Regions from separate parts of the Homo sapiens genome. Here all the other regions are linked to region 2. The links are contacts of gene promoters, found by promoter capture Hi-C in human tissues and cell types (Jung and others, 2019). All regions are on one chromosome and are shown on one strand. The core of a region is centred on a gene start or on the middle of the fragment in contact, and the rest is flanking DNA. Distances in the headings are between cores, read along the strand shown.

Region 1 (2,700 bases), core at 116-2,615, 52 kb after region 2:
TCCCAGCACTTTGGGAGGCTGAGGCGGGCACATCACCTGAGGTTGGGAGTTCGAAATGAGCCTGACCAACATGGAGAAACCCTGTCTCTACTAAAAATAGAAAATTAGCCAGACATAGTGGCACATGCCTGTAATGCCAGCTACCCGGGAGGCTAAGGCAGGAGAATTGCTTAAACCTAGGAGGCAGAGGTTGCAGTGAGCCGAGATCGTGCCATTGCAGTCCAGCCTGGGCAACAAGAGCGAAACTCTGTCTCAGGAAAAAAAAAAAAAAAAAACTTGTCTACATTGAAAATCTGTTGTTTGTAGTGTAGCCATCCTTATCAATGATCATAGTTAGATCTTCTGGATAACTTGTTATAACTTGTACATCAGCATTTGTTGCTTCATCTGGCATTTTTATCTTACGGAGACAGCTTCTTTCCTTAAACCTAGTGAACCAACCTCTGCTAGCTTCAAACATTTCCTCTCCAGCTTCCTCACTTCTCCTAGCCTTCATAAAATTGAAGAGTTAGGACATTGCTCTGGATTAGGCTTTGGCTTAAGGGAATGTTATGGCTGGTTTGATCTTCTACTCAGACCACTAAAACTTTCTCCATATCAGCAATAAGGCTTTTTTTTTGCTTTCTTATAATTCATGTGCTTATTGGAATAGCATTTTTATTTCTTCCAAGAACTTTTTCTTTGCATTCAGAACTTGTCTAACTGTTCTGTGCAAGAGGCCTAGCTTGCAGCCAGTCTCAGCTTTTGAAATGCCTTCCTCACTAAGTTTAATCATTTGTAGCTTTTGATTTAAAGTAAGAGATGCTCAATTCTTTCTTTCACTTGAACACATAAAAGCCATTGTAGGGTTATTAATTGGTCATATTTCAATATTATTGTCTCTCAGGGAATACGAAGGAGAGGAACAGAGACAGGAGAATGGTCAGTGATACAGTCAGAACATACACATTTATGGATTAGATTCACTACTTTATATGGACACAATTCTGCCCCCTCTTCCAAATTACAGTGGTAACATCAAAGACTGCTTATCACAGATCGCCATCACAGATAGGATAATAATGAAAAAGTTTGAAGTGTTGTAAGAATTACCAAAATGTGACACAGACACGTGAAGTAAGCACATGTTGGAAAAATGATGCTGGTAGGCTTACTCAGTGCAGGGTTGTCACAAAGCTTCAATTTGTTAGAAAAAAAATGGAATATCTGCAAAGCACAGAAAAGCACAGTACAATAAAATGAGGTATAGTTGTATAATTAGTAGACTTTGGAGAGTAAGCCTTTTCTCTCTGGTGAATCTTAGTCAGTAGTCAATTTAGAGGGGTGTCAATGCCCCAGTCACATGGCTATTCAACTTTCAGAGAATTTCTAGACCCAAACTAGTGTTTTCATTTTATAAGCATATTTAACATCTATTTAGTACATGTTGTATGCCAGGCACTATGCTAAGCATTCACATATATCAGCCAATGTCTAATCCTGTGAGATAGGTAGTAATTTGTTCCCATTTTTGTGGACGGGAAAATTGAGTCCTAGAGAGTCAATCAGCAAATAGTTCTTGGCTCCTTAAGAAGACTGAAAAAGCCCGTCTCCCTAGGAGCTTATTCTCTAGTGGAAGGATGCTGAAAATAAGTAAAAAAATTAAATGAATATGATAATTTTAGACTGTGATTAGTGCTATAAAGAGAATAAAACAGGGTAACATGATAAAGAATACCAGGAGGGGAAGTATCTAGAGTGATCAGAGAAGGCCTTTCTGAGGAGATGACCTTGAGAAGAGAGCTGAATCATCATAAGGGGCCATTGATCCAAATTCTGGAGCACCAGTGTTGGAAGAAGGAGGAAAAGCCATGATCCTCTGAAATGAGAATGAATTCACATGTTCCAGGAGGTTTGTTAGGTTGCAAGTAGCTAGAATATGAAGGACAGAGGCGCAGCACTATGGCATGAGGACTGAAAGCGAGCGGACGAACAATGTGTAGGCCTTGAGTTTTCTTCTGTTTGCAATGGAGAGCCCCTGAAGGGTTTCAAGTGGGGAAGAGTTGTGATTTGATGTGTTACATGTTTTTAAATTTATTTCCAAGTGACAAACTTACAGAAAATTTGCAAGTACACTTCAAAGACCTGCATTTCTTTTGAACCATTGGAGAATAAGTTGTAAATCTAATAACCTTTGAATAGTGTGTTTCTTACAAACAAGAATATTTTCCTATATAACTATAGTACAACCATCAATATCAATAAGTTATTGATATATTTATATTATCAAATGCTCAGACCCATTCAAGTTTCACCAGTTCTCTAATGTTTTTTTGACAGTATTTAGTTAGATGTCTCCTTCAGTCTGGAACAGTCTTTCATCTTCCCTTAACTTTCATGGCCATTCTACATTTGAAGATTATTTTGTAGCATGCCTCCTATTTTAACTTGTTTCATATTTCCTTAAGCTTAGATTTATATTATCAGTCTTTGACGGGAATGTCACTTAAGTGTTACTGTGATCCTTTCATTGATTCTTTTTAGGTAGTATATGATGTTTATTTGTCCCATTAATGATTCTGCACCGTTTGATGACTGATTAAGGCAATGTCCGTCCAGCTTCTCCACTATAAAAGTCACTCTTTTTCCAATGTAATTAGTAAGTGTTTTGTGGGGAGCGTCTTTGAGACTGATGATCCCATGCCTTATCATACTTTAACT
Region 2 (2,709 bases), core at 5-2,504:
ATACAATCTGCAAGATGGAATAAAATTAAATGCTAAATTGAGAACAGACTGTCATTTAGAAAGTCTTTCTGAAAGAGATGGGACTATATTTAATTTCTGAAGGATGGGCAGGAGATGGCATTTAAAGTACAGAAATCATCAAGCACAGAAACAAATGTGGATACTCATGGGGCAGTGACCAACCTGACTGAAGGGTGGGTGCACGTCTGAAATCAATGGGAATACATTTGAATGATTAGGAGATAATATATTATTAAGGCCTTGCCTCTAATCAGAAATAAAGATATTCTCTATTTCCCCAAATAAGGAATTCTTACATAGAGCTTAATGTATTTAAAAATTTTTAAATGGGCCTACAGAAAAGAGGTGGGGCTGACGGAAGTAAATAAAACCTGAAGATAAATTAAAGAATATATCAACGTGGGCAAAATTTTCCATTAGTTTTGGAACTTAGTTTTGTTTTTGAATAATAAGCAGTTAAATAATTAAAGCTTTGCCTTGGCAATGCAAGGACTGAAGATTATTTCTCGGTGGCAATTTTCCAGACTTGCTAGTTGTCCTTGGGTCTTGGTAACATTCTGCTCATTAACTTCAGGAAGACGTCCAGGAGTAAAGATGCATTTGAAAGTGGCTGAAAATAGTTTGTAAAGCTCAGCTTTCCTGGCTCGACAGTGAAATGACCGCACAGGCCAGTCACTGGGTCAAAAATCAATTAACAAAACGGGAAGTTTTCATGTCTTTATTTTTACATTAGCTCGAAAATCACAACCAAGAAGAAAGGCAACCACTGAATACAGGAAATACAGTATTGTTATTGCTGTTTTTTTTTTTTCTCTTGGCAAGGCTGGGTCGGGTGCCTTCCAGCCTCGCTGTGGATCCCGCGAAGTGGACGGTTCGCTTCGTGGCTTCTTCCCAGACCCCGCCACTGCGGAAACCGTCACTCGGTGGCCCCCGACTGGGTCAATGCGAGGACGCCCACCTCCTACCTTTGAGTCTCTCCTCTTCTCCAGGGTACAGCCAACCCTTTCTCCAACGTAGCCGGAGTCCGAGAGTCCCAGTTCCGCCCCTCCAGCCCGCCCCAGGCCAGGTGGGGATGCGCCCGGCCCGGGCCAGCGCTGGTCCCGGCAGTTCCGCGTCTGCGCAGCGGGCGAGGGGCTGGAGCGGGGCCGGCCGGGGAGGTGCAGGAGACGTGGGAGCCAATGGGCACGCTCGGGGGAGCCGGGCTGGCGGCGGCGGTGGCGGCCGGCTGGGCGCGCACTCTCGGGATGGAGGGCGAGCGCCGGGCATCGCAGGCGCCCTCCTCGGGCCTCCCGGCCGGGGGCGCCAACGGGGAGAGCCCGGGGGGCGGCGCCCCCTTTCCGGGCAGCAGTGGCTCTTCCGCCCTGCTGCAGGCGGAGGTGCTGGATCTGGACGAGGACGAGGACGACCTGGAGGTGTTCAGCAAGGTGAGGGCGGCGGCGGCGAGTCCCGGGAAACTTCCAAGGCAACTCCGGGCGTTGCCAGCATTGCGCCGACGGCTGCCTCTGGCGCGCTTGCCCTCCCGGGGCGGTGGCTCTGAGCTGGGGACGAGTGAGGTCCCCCGGGCTGCTGGACCCCGCCTGCCAGCTCTGGCCGCACCCGGGGCCGCGTCGCCTCGGGGCCTCAAACCGCAGCCGCTCCCTCCTCCGCACTTTGACCTTCCGTTCGGCGGGGCTGTGGCTTAGTGGAGTCTGCAAAGTTGTGATTTGTTTTCCCTTTCTGCTTCTCTGACACAGACATCTTCCTCGCGGCAGCTCCCGAACCTGGGAGGCTGGTGGCTCAAAACCGCTCCCGCCAGCTGCTTTTCGGGCGAGGCCAGCCCTGAACTCTGGGAGAGCAGCCAAGTTTAGAGAAATTATTCTTAATTTAGTGTTGTTGCTTGTGGATTTGAGACTTGGGTGAGTCTCGGGTCTTGTGGGAATAGGTTCTAGGAAATCTCCCTGAACAGGAGAAAACGGTTGTTTCTAACAGGAAGCTCCTCCGCTGAGGAGCTAAGGATTTTTCAGATGGTCAGCTACTGCCACCCAACCCACAGCCAGTGCTTTCGTTTTTCCTTGCCCCCGGGAAATTTAGGACCAAAGGCTCTTATTTGCTTATTTTACTGTTGGAGGGAAATTGACTTGTGGGGGCTAGTGGTAGACTTTTGGTACGTGTAGACTGGTGTTTGTAATTTCTTAAAGGGTTTTAGAAAAGAAAAATACCTTTCTTGCAGGGAGGTTGAATGTCACTCCAGTTTCTCAAGTTGCTGCTGAGAGAAGACCTGAGTTCAGATCACAACGCTGTATTCATTACTAAGAAGCCTGTTCATTTTAACGTTACCTGGAGATATTAGGTAAAGCAAACGACCTACTTAACCACCGCATTTACTCTGGGAGAGCAAACCAAAGTTAGGAAGTGACCATGCATACTCTGACTCCAAAGAGGAGTATATAAAACTTATTTCTACTTCGGTTTAAATGGAATGATAGGCCCAGGTTTGTATTCCGAATATTTAAACAGACTATCACAGTTTTGTGCTCTTGACTTTTCTGTTAAGTAGTAAAACAATGGAATTATTTTATGTTTAGTTGTAAACTCTGCCTTTTTATATTCCACACATACTTCATGTTCAGATCAACGACAGTTGGCCAGTTGGTTATTTACTTTCTTTCCTTCTTTACATTGCTGTTTGGATAAGGAATATTAGTCTAT
Region 3 (2,817 bases), core at 27-2,526, 48 kb before region 2:
AAAGCCACATCAGTTTCTCTCACTTGATCTGTCTGCAGTATTTCAATTCGTAAAGTACTAACATCAATTACTTTTTAAAAGCTATTCACTTGTCAACTGTACTGACAAATAAAATCAGGCATAAATTATGAGTCACTGCTTTTGTAGACTAAATTGATTCTTTAGAACACTAATAAAGAAAACATTTATAGAAAATTTCTTTTTAAAATATAAATGAATGCCTATTAATTGCATCAAGTAACAATATGTCACAAAAACATTTTTCATAAAGGTTTTTTAAAATAATCACAATGGAAATTGTCATATTTGGAAGATGATGTAAAAAAACTTTAAAAATTGGTCTGTTCTGGCCAGGGCAATTAGGCAGGAGAAGGAAATAAAGGGTATTCAATTAGGAAAAGAGGAAGTCAAATTGTCCCTGTTTGCAGACGACATGATTGTATATCTACAAAACCCCATTATCTCAGCCCAAAATCTCCTTAAGCTGATAAGCAAATTCAGCAAAGTCTCAGGATACAAAATCAATTTGCAAAAATCACAAGCATTCTTATACACCAATAACAGACAAACAGAGAGCCAAATCATGAGTGAACTCCCATTCACAATTGCTTCAAAGAGAATAAAATACCTAGGAATCCACCTTACAAGGGATGTGAAGGACCTCTTCAAGGAGAACTACAAACCACTGCTCAATGAAATTAAAGAGGATACAAACAAATAGAAGAACATTCCATGCTCATGGATAGGAAGAATCAATATCATGAAAATGGCCATACTGCCCAAGGTAATTTATAGATTCAATGCCATCCCCATCAAACTACCAATGACTTTCTTCACAGAATTGGAAAAAACTACTTTAAAGTTCACATGGAACCAAAAAACAGCCCGCATCACCAAGTCAATCCTAAGCCAAAAGAACAAAGCTGGAGGCATCACACTACCTTACTTCAAACTATACTACAAGGCTACAGTAACCAAAACAGCATGGTACTGGTACCAAAACAGAGTTATAGATCAATGGAACAGAACAGAGCCCTGAGAAATAATGCCACATATCTACAACTATCTGATCTTTGACAAACCTGAGAAAAATAAGCAATGGGGAAAGGATTCCCTATTTAATACATGGTGCTGGGAAAACAGGCTAGCCATATGCTGAAAGCTGAAACTGGATCCCTTCTTTACACATTATACAAAAATCAATTCAAGATGGATTAAAGACTTAAACGTTAGACCTAAAACCATAAAAACCCTAGAAGAAAACCTAGGCATTACCATTCAGGACATAGGCATGGGCAAGGACTTCATGTCTAAAACACCAAAAGCAATGGCAACAGAAGACAAAATTGACAAATGGGATCTAATAAAACTCAAGAGCTTCTACACAGCAAAAGAAACTACCATCAGAGTGAACAGGCAACCTACAAAATGGGAGAAAATTTTCGCAACCTACTCATCTGACAAAGGGCTAATATCCAGAATCTACAATGAACTCAAACAAATTTACAAGAAAAAAACAAACAACCCCATCAAAAAGTGGGTGAAGGACATGAACAGACACTTCTCAAAAGAAGACATTTATGCAGCCAAAAAACACATGAAAAAATGCTCACCATCACTGGCCATCAGAGAAATGCAAATCAAAACCACAATGAGATATCATCTCACACCAGTTAGAATGGCAATCATTAAAAAGTCAGGAAACAACAGGTGCTGGAGAGGATATGGAGAAATAGGAACACTTTTACACTGTTGGTGGGACTGTAAACTAGTTCAACCATTGTGGAAGTCAGTGTGGTGATTCCTCAGGGATCTAGAACTAGAAATACCATTTGACCCAGCCATCCCATTACTGGGTATATACCTAAAGGACTATAAATCATGCTGCTCTAAAGACACATGCACACATATGTTTATTGTGGCACTATTCACAATAGCAAAGACTTGGAACCAACCCAAATGTCCAACAACGATAGACTGGATTAAGAAAATGTGGAACATATACACCATGGAATACTATGCAGCCATAAAAAATGATGAGTTAATGTCCTTTGTAGGGACATGGATGAAATTGGAAATCATCATTCTCAGTAAACTATCACAAGAACAAAAAACCAAACACCGCATATTATCACTCATAGGTGGGAATTGAACAATGGGAACACATGGACACAGGAGGAGGAACATCACACTCTGGGGCCTGTTGTGGGGTGGGGGGAGGGGGGAGGGATAGCATTAGGAGATATACCTAATGCTAGATGACGAGTTAGTGGGTCCAGCACACTAGCATGTCACATGTATACATATGTAACTAACCTGCACATTGTGCACATGTACCCTAAAACTTAAAGTATAATAATAATAAAATTAAAAAAAAGAAGCTGTGGAAGGAACAAAAAAATTGGTCTGAAAAGAGTAATCAAATGCTAGTGTGAGAATAAAATTTGTTCATTTTATTTGTCCAGTGTGTTCACTTTTAGATCAAACTATACCAAGTGCTTTTCAGCTAGCTTTTTTTCTTCCAGAACCAGTGGCAAAACAGCTGCTCAGCCTATTAATAGCGTTTGCCCCACAAACCAGCAAAGTTCGGAAATTGCCATCACTGTTCCTCATCTAGAGTCTAAGGTTTATGCAACTGAATCATTCATGTCCCCACAAAACTCCCATAGGGCAACTAAGCTGTCTTGCTGGAATCTTTTGCTGAAGGCTTTTAAATGCTTCATTTTGCTATCTCTCCCAGGACATTGATGCCTATAGGAGAAGCCTTGCCCCAGCCTCCGGCCATCTCCTGCACACTAAGCCTTGCTTCTTTTCTCC

What was found. The method cuts DNA at HindIII sites, captures the fragments that hold promoters and counts their contacts. A contact is called where the count stands out against the background at its distance.
Region 1: a fragment that was not itself captured here is called in contact with the fragment with the promoter of SNX7 in region 2 in 1 of the 25 tissues and cell types used here (aorta).
Region 3: a contact is called between a fragment that was not itself captured here and the fragment with the promoter of SNX7 in region 2, in 1 of the 25 tissues and cell types used here (thymus).

The regions. Positions count from the first base shown.
Region 1 is chr1:98,712,838-98,715,537 of GRCh38, forward strand. The region is part of intron 7 of SNX7 (sorting nexin 7); the gene reads left to right. Among named protein-coding and RNA genes, the nearest start is that of SNX7, 52 kb to the left of the region's middle. The HindIII fragment of the contact is 4,775 bases long and covers 1-2,700 here.
Region 2 is chr1:98,660,467-98,663,175 of GRCh38, forward strand. It overlaps SNX7 (sorting nexin 7), which reads left to right and starts at 1,255. Exons shown (of 9, transcript NM_015976.5): 1 at 1,255-1,445. The coding sequence starts at 1,266. It overlaps SNX7-DT (SNX7 divergent transcript), which reads right to left and starts at 306. Exons shown (of 1, transcript NR_189290.1): 1 at 1-306. RefSeq lists silencers at 1,057-1,196, 1,217-1,336, 1,567-1,636. The HindIII fragment of the contact is 3,254 bases long and covers 164-2,709 here.
Region 3 is chr1:98,612,841-98,615,657 of GRCh38, forward strand. No RefSeq gene overlaps it. Among named protein-coding and RNA genes, the nearest start is that of SNX7-DT, 47 kb to the right of the region's middle. The HindIII fragment of the contact is 8,915 bases long and covers 1-2,817 here.